Regions from separate parts of the Homo sapiens genome. Here all the other regions are linked to region 1. Evidence: promoter capture Hi-C in 16 types of primary human blood cells and fetal thymus (Javierre and others, 2016). All regions are on one chromosome and are shown on one strand. Each heading gives the region's core, a stretch centred on a gene start or on the middle of the fragment in contact. The rest is flanking DNA. Distances are from core to core; before and after follow the strand shown.

Region 1 (2,625 bases), core at 83-2,582:
GTCTGTTGCCGAGTGGCACAGAGTGCAGTGGCACAATCATAGCTCACTGCACCCTCAACCTCCTGGGCTCAAGTGACCCTCCGGCCTCAGCCTCCCAAAGCACTGAGATGACATGCGTGATGAGCCACTGCACCCAGCCATGCTGGAAGCTTTTGAATACAACATGCTGCAGGCATCACAGCCTCATTCATTCCTTCACTCAGCAAATCTTTACTCAGCACCTAATGTGTTCCAGATACATTTTTTTTTTTCAGATGGAATCTAGCTCTGTCACCCAGGCTGGAGTGCAGTGGTGCAATCTTGGCTCACTGTAGCCTCTGCCTCCGAGGTTCAAGCGATTCTCATGCCTCAGCCGCCCTAGTAGCTAGGATTACAGGCGCCCTCCACCACACACAGCTATTTCCAGGTACATTCTTGACGCTAGGAATTCAGCAAAGAATAAGACAGTTAAGGTCTCCGATGCTCATAGGCCTCACATTTTAGAGAGGGATGAATGTCCAATAAGCATATAAACGTATAATATGTCAGGGTCGTATGACTACAAGGAACAGTGATTGTTACAACCCAGATGAGAGGGAAAAATAAAGGATTCCAAATATCCCCCTTGGGAAGTAGAGTCAGGATTCAAACAAAGAACTGTATGGCTTCAAGTTCATGGTCTTTAATCTCCTGGAGGCTGTCTCTCTTTCTTTTTTCTTTTTTTTAATCAGTGTTGGGATCAAATTCTGGCTCCCCTAGGAAGCATCTGGCAAGGTTTCGGGAGCCATCGGGTTGGCCATGTTATGCTGGAATATTTATAAGCACCGGAGGGTTATCCCCATGTCGTAGAAAATGAAACTGAAGCTCAGAGAGATTTGCACTCTCTGCCCTTTTGTACAACTCATTTTTCCCCAGTATGTGGAATTGAGGGAGCTTCACGCTTCTAGCTGTCATGATTCCAAGATTCTACGACATGTGGGAGAGGATCCTAAGGTTCGGGGAACCGCGGAGGTTTCGGGGTTCTAGAAATCCGAGGTTCTAAGCCTAGGTGCTCCAATAAACCCAGTGAGAGCCAGCCCAGGTTTCCGGTCTGTACCCGCTGGTGCAAGCCCAGAGACAAGCAGGCGCCACCCATGAGCCCCTCTGCGGCCCCCTCCCGGGTCCCACCTCGCAGGCCAGCTGGAGGGCGCGATCCTGGCGTCCCCCGACGGCCTGGGGCCCCAATCCAGAGGCCTGGGTGGGAGGGGACCAAGGGTGTAGTAAGGAAGCGCCTTTTGCTGGAGGGCAACGGACCGGGGCGGGGAGTCGGGAGACCAGAGTGGGAGGAAGGCGGGGAGTCCAGGTTCCGCCCCGGAGCCGACTTCCTCCTGGTCGGCGGCTGCAGCGGGGTGAGCGGCGGCAGCGGCCGGGGATCCTGGAGCCATGGGGCGCGCGCGCGACGCCATCCTGGATGCGCTGGAGAACCTGACCGCCGAGGAGCTCAAGAAGTTCAAGCTGAAGCTGCTGTCGGTGCCGCTGCGCGAGGGCTACGGGCGCATCCCGCGGGGCGCGCTGCTGTCCATGGACGCCTTGGACCTCACCGACAAGCTGGTCAGCTTCTACCTGGAGACCTACGGCGCCGAGCTCACCGCTAACGTGCTGCGCGACATGGGCCTGCAGGAGATGGCCGGGCAGCTGCAGGCGGCCACGCACCAGGGTGAGCCGCCCCCGTTCCCCTCCACCCCGTCTTTCCCCTCCACCCACACCAGCGCTTACCCCGCGGGCTCTTCCGCTTTCTGTTCCTCCTACCCCTAAACAAAGCTGCTCTACCGGAAAGGAGGCTCCCCACGCTTGGCCTACCGACCAACGGGACCCCGGCCCCACGGCGGGAAGGGAAGGGAAGGGGATCACTTGGCCCATATCCTTCCAGGCTCTGGAGCCGCGCCAGCTGGGATCCAGGCCCCTCCTCAGTCGGCAGCCAAGCCAGGTGAGGCCTCCACACCCAGCCCGGCCCCACCGCACTCCTGCACAGCCTGCATCTGTGCTCCCGCAACCAGGGCAGGGCAGGGCAGGGCAGGCACGGCTTGGCAACCCTGCGCACCCCACCCACCAACCCACACCCTGCGGGGGAAGGGAGACAATATTACCCTCATCCCACTGCATGTGGGGTCCTGGTGGCCGCCCCCTGGAGCCCTGCCCCTAGGCTTGCAGAGGAATTCCTGAAGAACTCAAGTTCAGCAGGGACAGGCCCCACACCCTGGCTGCTGGCTCATGTTCTCCTCCCACCCCCAGGCCTGCACTTTATAGACCAGCACCGGGCTGCGCTTATCGCGAGGGTCACAAACGTTGAGTGGCTGCTGGATGCTCTGTACGGGAAGGTCCTGACGGATGAGCAGTACCAGGCAGTGCGGGCCGAGCCCACCAACCCAAGCAAGATGCGGAAGCTCTTCAGTTTCACACCAGCCTGGAACTGGACCTGCAAGGACTTGCTCCTCCAGGCCCTAAGGGAGTCCCAGTCCTACCTGGTGGAGGACCTGGAGCGGAGCTGAGGCTCCTTCCCAGCAACACTCCGGTCAGCCCCTGGCAATCCCACCAAATCATCCTGAATCTGATCTTTTTATACACAATATACGAAAAGCCAGCTTGAACTTGTGTGTTTTCCTGCTT
Region 2 (2,625 bases), core at 126-2,625, 240 kb after region 1:
AGAACGCATCTACTTGCTGCTCCATATCTTGGTCACACCTGTCCCAGCCCCCGCACGGCATTTTCTCAAAAGTCTGTCATTTCGCCCACCAGTCTTAAGAAATAGCCACCATTCCCACTTCACAAGTGGCAAAATGGAAGACCAAAGCTTGAAGAGAGCTAAGGGCCTTGTCCACTGCAAGCCAGCAAGGAATGGAGCCAGGACAAAGCTCTGCTGCCTCCCAGGCCCATCTGTGCCTGCTTCTCTGTCCCCTCAACTCCCCTGCCCACCCAGGGTGGCCTGCAGGGCCTGCGGCCTCTCTCCACTCGCCTCCATCACCTGTCTCCTCTGAGCTGTGCAGCCTGGAGGAGCCAGAGGCCCATTTCCTCCTGCAAAGCCCAGGGCTCCCCGGTCCCAGGCGCTGGCCTCACCTTGGCCTTCTCCTCCTTGCTCTCCCACCACTGGTCAAAGGCTCCGAAGGCCACGTTCTCCACCATCTTGCGGTTGAGGTCTCGCTGCATGATGCTCTTCATCTCCTGGACCAGCATGGCGAGCACACGGCCCACGGTGCCTGCTGTCGGGAGGGTCTTGCCCTCTGCCAGCTCTGCTTCTTCCCTGGGTGGCAGCCGGGCCTCCTCTCCCGAGACTGAGGAGGAGGGCAGGGGCTCGGCTGCCATTGGCATGGGCAGGTGGTAGGCCTCCCGTGAGTATGCCCCTCTGCCCTCCTGCCCCTGTGCATATAGAGCATACGGCAAGCCGTAGGCTGCCTCCTGCGGGGGTGGAAACGGGAGGAAGGCCTCCCCAAAGGCCCCACCGGGGGGGCCAGCTGAGGCGGCAATCAATCCCTTGCCCTGCCGCAGCTGATGGAGCCGAGTTAACATCTGGGTCTGCATCTGGAAGGACATGGGCATCCCTCCCCACTGAGCCCCAAGTCGGTCCATGAGCTCCAAGGAGTTCACAAAGTCATAGATGTGCGGGGGTGGTGGAGGAGGTGGGGGGTACTCAGGGGGCGGCGGCCCATCAGGTCTGGGTGGGAGGAGGTAGGCAGGTTGGTGGGGAGGATAACCAAGAGGAAGGGACGCCAGGTAGGGAGGAGGAGGCGGCGGGGGAGGGGGAGGTGGCGGAGGCTGCTGAGGGGGCGTCGGGGCCGGAGGGGGTGAGCCACCCCGGTCGTCGTCGGAGATCTCCATGTCGTCTCCAGAAGAGCATGGAGAAGCCTGCGGGGGCAGAAGAGGGTCACAGAAGGCTTCTGCCTGACCCAAGCCCTACTTTCTCATCTGGTTCCCTTCCCTCTCCCCTAGGCCCAACCCTGACTCCCAGAGCCCAGGTGCCTCCTCTGGCTGACCCCAACCTCACCTGGTTCTGTCCATTTGCCTTGGGAGACTCCCGGGTAGCCCCTGGCTCCCCGCTCCCTGTAGGTGCCACATCCTCAAAATTAGCTGGGGCCGGAGGGGGTGTGCAGGGCCCATGCCCTGACCCAGAAGGCACCTCACTCCCTGTATCTCTGGCCCCAAGGACCATGCTGCTGTTCTCTTCCTCCTCCTCTGTGTCAGAGGCCAAGAAGGAAAACTTGGAGCGCTGCTCCTTCAGCAGCATCTCGATGCGGGAATCCAGGCTGCTGTGCTGGGCGAAGGGCACACTCTCATTGGTGGTCTCCGGGGCTGGGGAGCCAGAGCGGGCAGGGGAGGCTGGGCGGGGGGAAGTCCGAACTTCTTCTCTCTCAGGGCTGGGCCCTCCTCCACCCCCGCCTCCACCAGGTTCTGGAGGCTCCGGGGGTGGAGCCTCTGAGGCAGGAGGCCGGTAGTCCTGGTCGGTGGGCCGGCTGGGCTCGGGGGGCAGGTAGGAGGTGTAAGAAGGTGGGAAGCGCTCAGCTGTATTTTCAGCAAAAGGGGCTCCAGGGGGTTCCTCCCGTGTGGCCCGGCGTGGTGGGTAGGAAGTATGGCGCTGGTAGCGATTCCAGCTTTCATAATACGCTGGGTAGTTTGCATCAGAACTACGAAACTGAGAGGACGAGGAGGAAGAGGATGACGAGGAGGACGAGGACAATGAGGAGGAAGAGGCGGAGGATGAGGCAGTGGCTGCAGTGGTGGCGGCGATGGCCGTGGAGGCGGTTGTGGAGGCTGAAGATGCAGAGAAGTGGCGGCGGGAAAAGGCATCTTGGTAGCTGTTCTCTGACCGCCGGGGCTTGAAGGAGGTTGAAGTGGTGCTGGAGAAGAAGCAGGGGAGTTAGCTGGACTCAGCTCTCTATGACCAAACCACAGCGTACTGGGTCCCAGGGCCCAAAGCCCCTCTATGCTGCCCTCCAAAAGAAGAGCTATATGTTGGGTTCCTAGCTAGTGTGTTCCCCGAGGACAGCAATTTGTTGACTGAATCCACAGAGAAACTAGGACAAATTATTTCCAACTCCCTCTTGGAGACAGACTCTGGGCATCTTCTTCCCAGTGGCAGCTCCCAGACTTTGCGGGCGGGGCCCCAGGCGGGGTCTGCTCTGTACCTGCTGGAGTAGGCAGAGTCCTGAGAGTAGGGGGTGCTGCCCCGAGACGTGTAGGGGGTTCCTTGGGAGGACTGAGGTGTGAACTGGCCAAAGGAAGATGGGGTATCTTGTCGGCTGCTGGAGAAGCTTGTGTCCTGGGAGCAGGGGGTGCC
Region 3 (2,625 bases), core at 89-2,588, 200 kb before region 1:
TGAGTCCCTGACTACTCCATTCTCTGATAAAACCTCAGGCATTTATCCGACACCTCCTACGTGCCCCGGGCTGAGCACCCCACACACATGATCTCAATCCTAAGCTGTGAGCTTATCTTCATCTGAGAGTTACTGAGACTTAGAGCCCATCACCCCAGGGTTACACCCAGAGTAGCTCACGGGGAGCCAGGATGGGAGCCTGATGTGTCTGAGCCAAAGCCCGGGCCTCTGGCTGCTGTGGGGTGGGGAGGGGTCCTGGGGTCCAGGCTCTGCAGAACCAGGCAAAGGGGAGGCATAGCTGCAGAGGAGCCTAGTCCTATATCAGGGAGACTGGCAGCGAGGCAACCAGGAGCACCCCGGGGGGAGGTTCTCCCTGCAGCCCCGACATGCCCCTTGGTAGCCCCTTTCCCTGGAGCCTCCCTCAGCCTCTGAGAAGAGCTGTGCTGACCCAGGGTTAGGAAGTGGGGGTGGCAGTCACATCGCCAGGCTGGGGTCGGGGTTGCTTACACCACTGTCAGGATGCCCGTGGCCGTGAACGTCAGGCCTTTCAGTTGGACGATGGGATCCACCAGGCTCTGCTGGCTCGGGCTGGTCCGGAATTGGGTGAAGGTGAAGTGGATCTTCAGGAGGTTTGAGTACTGCATCAGTGCAAACTGCAAAGGCCAGTGGGGAGGGCCCAGGGCTCAGTGCCTGTTACTATTGTTTTTATTTTAATTTTTTGTAGAGACAGGGTCTCTCAAACTCCTGGCCTCAAGTGATCCTCCTGCCTCAGCCTCCAAGTAGCTGGAACTACAGGCACACGTCACATGCCTGGCTTTGTTTTTTGTTTTGTTTTGTTTTTGGTAGAGACAAGGTCTCACTATGTTGCCCAGGCTGGTCTCGAACTCTTGGCCTCAAGCAATACTCCCACCTCAGCCTCCCAAAGTGCTGGGATTACAGGTGTGAGCCACCACACCAAGCCATATTGTTTTCAGTTTTAATAAACTTTATTTTGGAATTATTTTGGATTTACAAACCATTTCCCATGTGTTTTGAAGCCCTACAAATAATATACTGAAACCCAGAGAAGAAAATTCATTGGCCCAAAAATACAAAATATAAACTGGAAAATCTAAACCAAATGATATTTCCTTCACAGTTTATTAAAAATAACTTTGCCAACCACAATATTTGCTACCCTTAGCTTTTTAAAAATTTTATCACACATTAAATCAATTTGTGTATTTCCTCCCTTCTCAAGAATTTGTGGCTGGGCGTAGTGACTCATGCCTGTAATCCCAGCACTTTGAGAGGCCAAGGTGGGAGGGTTGTTTGAGCCAGGAGTTGGAGACCAGGTTGGGCAATATAACAAGACCCCATCTCTACAATAAAAATTTTTAAAAATTAGCCAGGCATGGTGGCATGCACCTGTAGTCCCATCTACTCAGGAGGCTGAGGAAAGAGGATCACTTGAGCCTGGGAGATCAAGTCTGCAGTGAGCTATGATTGCACCCCCACACTGCAGCCTGGATGACAGAACAAGACCCTGTTTAAAAAACAAAACAGTGGGGTTTTTTTGCACATACATAGGCACTAGTTATGGGAAAATAAAATAATAAAAAGAAATCATTAGTTACATAGAAAATATGTCAGTCAAATTCCATAGCAAAATTATTTTTTAAACACTTTCAATGTTTTTAAACAGCAGAAACATTGTATTTCCTGTAGCTTTTGGATACATTATTAAATGCCAAGAGGGCCTCCTAGGTCAGGGCTCAAGTTGGGCCTGTGCTGGGACCATAGCTTCATTCTCCACCCCAGCCCCATCACACACGGCTCACTGGCCTGCCCCCACCCCTCCCGGGATGCCTCCCCGAGGCCAGCCTCCCCCGTCCCCCAAACCCCAGCCCCAGGTGCCCAGTCTTCACCAGGGTGTCAGTGCCCTCAAACTGGCCCATGACAGCTTGGACAAAGCCCTTCATCTGGTTAAAGTCATTTTGGTCAATGCTTCCAGAGCCGTCAATCAGGAAGACGATGTCCATCTCTTGATGTGGACACTCTGTGGGGGAATGGGGAGGAATCGGAGATGCACTGCGGGGGCCCAACCCCCTCCTGCAGCTCCTGCTCAACAGAGCCCGGGGGCTGTTCTTGGCATCCCCACCTAGTTTCCGACCCCTCCTTGGAGGAGGCCCCAGTCTGCCACCCCAGCCCCCTGCTCCCTTCCTCCCACATGGCCTGGAAAGAGAGGGATGACAACACAGGACCCAGGTGGGCTCCTCATCCATTTAATCAACAAATATTCATTAAACACAGATGCTAGGGGTGCCACAAGCATCAAGGGCGAATGTTTAGCAAAGTGGTTCAGGGCGCGTGTTCTGGAGCCAGTGTGCCTGGGCTAAACCCCAGCTCAGCCACGTGCTAATTGGTGAATTCAGGCACATTACTTAACTTCTCTGGACTTCAGTGTCCCTATCTGTAAAATGAAGGTAATATCAGTGGCTACCACGTGGGATCACTGCAAGGATAAAGCAACACGCACATGGGTGCTGGAGACAAGTCCTGGCCCTCTGCCAGGGTCAGCCGCTGGCACCATTCTCACCACGTGCCAGGCACCTTCGAGGCCTGTAGGATATGCCTGTAGGGATG
Region 4 (2,625 bases), core at 75-2,574, 200 kb after region 1:
GCCTGGGGTCACACAGCAAGACAGACGGAGGCTGGGAGGGATGGCCTCCTGTCCAAGCTCTTCCTGCAGCCCTGGGCCCCTCCTACTGATTTTCTGTCCTGGCTGCAGGAGTTCAGCAGTCCTGAGGACATGGCAGAGTGGGCTTTTTAGGACCAGGAGGGACTGCCATCTGTCAGCAGGACAGAAGGGAGAGAGCCTGACATTTAGTGCCAGACAGTCCTGGGTTCAGGTCCTACCTCTGGCCTCATTTGCTGTGAAGCTTTAGGCAGGTCAGGCAACCTCTCTGAGCCTGTTTCCTTGTCTGTAACATGGAATCAGCCGGTGGTAGGCATTGTTACCACTCAGCAAATGCAGAGACTAGGCTCAGGGGTAGAGCCAAATGGTCTTCTAACAGCTGACCTGGGGCAAGTTCTTTTTTTTTTTTTTTTAAGAAACGGGGTCTTGCTCTGTCACCCAGGCTGGAGTGCAGTGGCACAATCACAGCTCACTGCAGTCTCTTGACCTCCTGAGCTCCGGGGATCCTCCTACCTCACCCTCCCAAGTAGCTGAGACTACAGGTGCGCACCACCATGCCCAGCTAATTTTTGTATTTTTTGTAGAGACATGATCTTGCTATGTTGCCCAGGCTGGTCTTGAACTCCTGGGTTCAAGTGATCCTCCCACCAGAGCCTCCCAAAGTGCTGGGATTACAGGCGTGAGCCACTACAACTGGCCTGAGTTATTTAGCTCTATGCCTCAGTTTCCCCATCTATAAAAGGGGGCTATAATAATACCTCCAAGGGGACTGTTGTAAGAATGAAATGGATAGATATATGTGGAGCACATAGAACAGTGCCTGGCACATTGTAAAACATCATCTAAATATTTGCATAAGTATAATTATGTTGGCCAATGGTCCTTACAGAGTCCTAATGAAGATTAAATGAGATAACAAGAATGTAAGACTTACGCAAAAAATACCATCAAGTGCTCTTGTTTTGCTAGGTTGTCCGGACACAGAGCCTTCCCCAGATTGGGACTTAGCAGGCGCTCACTGAGAGGGAAAGTAACTGGGAGCGGAAAGTCAGTGGGGGAGGTAGCCCAGTCTGGAGCCTAACAGCGGTCTTTGAGGGGCTGGATGCCCATGGTTTTCTGGCCCTATGTGGCCTGGGTGCCCTTGGGCAAGTCACTCTCCTTTTACCCCCCTGGCTTCCTGTTCCCTCATCTGTGAAATGGGGACGATGATGTTTATGCAGCTTTTCTCTCAGGGCTGGTGGTGCTGAGGATCAAAACGGATTATGGATGTAAAAGTGTTTGTAAATGGTAGAGGATTATTAGCTCCCAGCTCTCTTTGTATTTATTATACCAAATAAACCACACTTGGGCCTTCTATCATTCTTCCTGTCTTGAGGGCAAACAAATAGGTAGCCCAGGGTGCTCCAGAGATGAACCTAAGGGAGGTGGCTCCAAGAACAACAGGAGAGATTGAAATTAGATTTTAGGAAAGACTTCCTAACATTAGCATGGGGAAGGGAGAGACACAGAGAACAGGAAAGTCCTCAGGCACCCGGGCCAGGGAGAGGCCGCATGACCTGCGTGAGGCTGGTGGCTGAGTGAGTGGTTGAAGGGAGAGAAAGGGCAGAGGAAGGCTTTTGGCTCTAGGGGAAGGAGGCCTTGTAGCACAGCTGGATTTTGAGGACAGAGAAAGTGAAGAGCATCATGGTAGGCCGATGGGTCCTCAGAGGTGAGCCCAGCATCCCAGAGCCTCTCAGGGTCCCCAACTTATGCCACCTGTGCCGCCCCACTTTCTGGGGGCAGCTGTGAGCCAAGACAGAGGAAACTCCCTTTCCAGGCGGATGGTTGGGATTGTCTGGAAATTCAACACAAGTGCTGAACACATTTTCCGACACAGTGTGGGCCCAGCGTCTGTGTGAAGACTCCCTGGAGTTCCATTTGGGCTGGGCTTAGCAGGGAGGCTGGGGTGGCTCAGGAGCGTGGAGCTGGAGGCCCCCCAGGCTGTGCTGGCTTTTCCTGGGGCTGTGGGGCACTGCTGATCCTGAGTTTTGGCTGTGTGGACTGCACCTAGGTCCCATCTGGCCCTGTCTAGGTTCAATCTGAGCTGTCTGGGATCTGTCTGGGATCCGTGTGAGCCTCGGCTAGTTCAGTCTGAGCCTGTCTGGTTTCTGTTAGGCCCTGTCTGCGTTCCGCTGGGACCCTGGCAAGCTCTTCTTTTTGGATTCCAACTGAGTACACCCCCAGGTGGATGCTGTTTGGATCCTGTCTTGATTTCACCCAGCCTCTGGGGTTTGGATTCTGTCTGAGCTCTGGCTGGGTTCTTTTTGGAAATCAGAATGAACTCTGTATACATTTCCACTGGGGCTGATCAGGGCTCCAGATGTCATTAAGCTTGATGGACTCAGATTTTGCTGTCAGACCTCTGTCCCAAGCAGAGAAGGACTCAGGTGTGTGTAGCACAGGGCACCTCCCCTACAGCCTCTCCTGTCCAGCTCTGAGTGTGTGTGCAGACATGAGGCTCGGAGAAGCTGGAAGAACAAGCCCAGTGAGCCCTCCCAAATGTCCTCAGGGGTGCAGCTGAAAGCCAGTGTGTCCACACATGTCAGTGCGGCTCAGCTGTGAGTCTGCGTG
Region 5 (2,625 bases), core at 44-2,543, 160 kb after region 1:
CTACTGCAAGTAGGCAGGTGCCAGGAGCCGGCTTACCCTTTAAAACTAGGTGTCGGGGGCCGGGCGCGGTGGCTCATGCCTGTAATCCCAGCACTTTGGGAAGCTGAGGCGGGCGGATCACGAGGTCAGGAGATCGAGACCATCCTGGCTAACACGATGAAACCCCGTCTCTACTAAAAATACAAAAAATTAGCCGGGCGCGGTGGCGGGTGCCTGTAGTCCCAGCTACTCAGGAGCCTGAGGCAGGAGAATGGCGTGAACCCGGGAGGCGAAGTTTGCAGTGAGCGGAGATCGCACCACTGCACTCCAGTCTGGGCGATAGAGCAAGACTCCGTCTCAAAAAAAAAAAAAAAATTAGCCGGGCATGGTGGCGGGCGCCTGTAGTCCCAGCTACTCTGGAGGCTGAGGCAGGAGAATGGCGTGAACCCGGGAGGCGGAGCTTGCAGTGAGCCGAGATTGCGCCACTGCACCCCAGGCTGGGCGACAGAGCGAGACTCTGTCTCAAAACAAACAAACAAACAAACAAAAACTCTAGGTGTCGGGGAACAGGAGCCACGTCCACTCCAGAAATTAGGCATCAGGACTAGGAGCCCTTAGAAATTTAGGCGGTGGCTCACGCCTGTAATCCCAACACTTTGGGAGGCCGAGGAGGGCAGATCACGATGTCAGTAGATCGAGACCATCCTAACACGGTGAAACCCCGTCTCTACTAAAAATACAAAAAATTAGCCGGGTGTGGTGGCGGGTGCCTGCAGTCCCAGCTACTCGGGAGGCTGAGGCAGGAGAATGGCGTGAACCTGGGAGACGGAGCTTGCAGTGAGCTGAGATAGTGCCACTGCACTCCAGCCTGGGCAAAAGAACAAGACTCTGTCTCAAAAAAAAAGAAAAAAAGAAATTTAGTCAGGGCTTGGATTTCAGGTACCTTATGGAAGAAATCAGAGGTCAGGCTTTTCTGCTGCCACCACCTGCTTCAGCCAGGTAACCCTCAGCAACCAGGTGCACTGATCCAGGATCACTGGCTCTCTATGCTGCTGCTGCTGCTGCTGCTGCTACTGATGATGATTGCTATTATTTTTGAGACAGGGTCTCGCTCTGTCACCCAGGATGGAGTGCAGTGGGATGACCATGGCTCACTGCAGCCTTAATCTCCTGGGCTCAAGCGATCCTCCCACCTCAGCCTCTGGAGTAGCTGGGACGACAGACACTTGCCATCACGCCTGGCTAATTTGTAAAATTATTATTCTCTAAAGAGAAGAGGTTGCCCCATCCTGCCTAGGCTGGTCTCAAGCTCCTGGGCTCAAGAGATCCTCCTGCCTGGGCCTCCCAAAGTGCTGGGATTACTGGTGCGAGCCACCACACCCTGCCTAAACGCTTATGTAAAAGATGATGCTTTTGTTGGTCACAGGGCCCGGCCTCCTGTGCTTTCTGACTGGCAACCTCTTCCCCAGCTTAACATCCCACTCCAATGTCATCCCTGCTGAAACCAGACCATCCCTATCCACTGCATCCAAAGTGACAGCCTCAATTAGGCATTTTTTCATGGTGCCTCTTCCTCTGGGCCACAAGAAGGCCCACTGATGCCACCCAAACCCCCATCTCACCTGCGTCCCAGCCTGGCCTGGTCAGCCTCATCATTTCCAAGACAGATACTCACAGTGGTCCTTTCCCGGGGACAGTACTGAGCCAGGAGCTAGATGCCGGTGTTACCCCTCCCTGCCCACCCATTCCTATGGGGGTGCAGAAAGGCAGAACCAGCCTGCTGTGGGCACAGCACCCCTGGCAGTTTGACCTGAGCAGCCAGGGCCAGACCTGGCCCTGGGGACGTCCAGGAGGTAAGGAGGTTGGATGCCCGGAAGCCTTGGGCCAGCCCTTCCAGGAACACACGTGCACAGGGCTTTCTATGCTCTTTTTTTGTTTTTTAATTTTTTACAAAACCGTGTGTCCCGGCCAATCAGGACAGTGCAGGCCTCCCCCAGGCATTGAGGCCTGAAGGAGGAGGCCATCATGAATGAGCAGCTGCCAACCCCAGAAGAACTGTCTGCCCTTCTGCATAGGGGCCAGTGTGAGGAAGGGGTCCGACTGGAGGCTCTGCCCTGCCCCCCAGGCTGCTGGGAGAGAAGGCCAGGCCCTGGGTTCCTGGTGCTCCTAGTGCCTGTAAGGAAAGGAGGGAGAACAGGGTCTGAGGGAGGAGGGAGGGCTGGGGCCAGGGCTGGGGCAGGCCAGGGGGCAGCCCACAACATCTCACCAACAATGTGCGACATTATCCAACCACTGTGACGCCAATGATGACTGCTAGGAGGACGACGGTGATGGACACACAGATGGCAATCAAGACTTTCTTCTGTGGGAGAGGAGGGGGTCAGGGAAGTCACACAGGGTGCCTGGGGCAGTGGCCGGGCCTGGGAGGCTCACCTTCCTCGCCTTCTTCTGGTTCTCCAGGGCCGTCTTGACGTGCTCCTGCCCACGTTCCACGTAGTCCGCTGAGCTCAGGATGTTCTTCTCAATCCGATTGATCATCTCCCCCTGCTCAGAGGATGGGGTGGTTCAGGGAGGTAAGGATGCCTTTGCCCACCCCACCCCAGATGACTGAAGAACATTCCTGGCAGGAAAAAAAAATTGCACTAA

The links. The method cuts DNA at HindIII sites, captures the fragments that hold promoters and counts their contacts. A CHiCAGO score of 5 or more calls a contact.
Region 2: a contact is called between a fragment that was not itself captured here and the fragment with the promoter of PYCARD in region 1, in 14 of 17 cell types (monocytes, M0 macrophages, erythroblasts and 11 more). The highest score is 10.3, in monocytes.
Region 3: a contact is called between a fragment that was not itself captured here and the fragment with the promoter of PYCARD in region 1, in 9 of 17 cell types (M0 macrophages, monocytes, M1 macrophages and 6 more). The highest score is 18.1, in M0 macrophages.
Region 4: a fragment that was not itself captured here is called in contact with the fragment with the promoter of PYCARD in region 1 in 3 of 17 cell types (monocytes, M0 macrophages and neutrophils); the score reaches 7.7 in monocytes.
Region 5: a contact is called between a fragment that was not itself captured here and the fragment with the promoter of PYCARD in region 1, in 4 of 17 cell types (monocytes, M0 macrophages, fetal thymus and 1 more). The highest score is 10.3, in monocytes.

What each region holds. Positions count from the first base shown.
Region 1 is chr16:31,201,467-31,204,091 of GRCh38, reverse strand. It overlaps PYCARD (PYD and CARD domain containing), which reads left to right and starts at 1,332. Exons shown (of 3, transcript NM_013258.5): 1 at 1,332-1,675; 2 at 1,889-1,945; 3 at 2,251-2,606. The coding sequence starts at 1,402. The coding sequence ends at 2,507. PYCARD-AS1 (PYCARD antisense RNA 1) reads right to left here and starts at 2,207. Exons shown (of 2, transcript NR_102400.1): 1 at 2,106-2,207; 2 at 640-1,632. RefSeq lists a silencer at 982-1,341 and enhancers at 1,452-1,681, 1,871-2,501. The HindIII fragment of the contact is 5,508 bases long and covers 152-2,625 here.
Region 2 is chr16:30,964,172-30,966,796 of GRCh38, reverse strand. It overlaps SETD1A (SET domain containing 1A, histone lysine methyltransferase), which reads right to left. Exons shown (of 19, transcript NM_014712.3): 6 at 2,474-2,625; 7 at 1,336-2,185; 8 at 411-1,196. Among named protein-coding and RNA genes, the nearest start is that of SETD1A, 7.7 kb to the right of the region's middle. The HindIII fragment of the contact is 2,452 bases long and covers 150-2,601 here.
Region 3 is chr16:31,401,528-31,404,152 of GRCh38, reverse strand. It overlaps ITGAD (integrin subunit alpha D), which reads right to left. Exons shown (of 30, transcript NM_005353.3): 6 at 1,908-2,038; 7 at 508-653. Among named protein-coding and RNA genes, the nearest start is that of ITGAD, 9.5 kb to the right of the region's middle. The HindIII fragment of the contact is 7,259 bases long and covers 1-2,625 here.
Region 4 is chr16:31,002,481-31,005,105 of GRCh38, reverse strand. The region is part of intron 1 of STX1B (syntaxin 1B); the gene reads left to right. Among named protein-coding and RNA genes, the nearest start is that of STX1B, 6.8 kb to the left of the region's middle. The HindIII fragment of the contact is 2,126 bases long and covers 262-2,387 here.
Region 5 is chr16:31,039,439-31,042,063 of GRCh38, reverse strand. STX4 (syntaxin 4) reads right to left here. Exons shown (of 11, transcript NM_004604.5): 9 at 2,413-2,523; 10 at 2,246-2,341; 11 at 1,900-2,152. The coding sequence ends at 2,261. Among named protein-coding and RNA genes, the nearest start is that of STX4, 7.2 kb to the right of the region's middle. The HindIII fragment of the contact is 8,081 bases long and covers 1-2,625 here.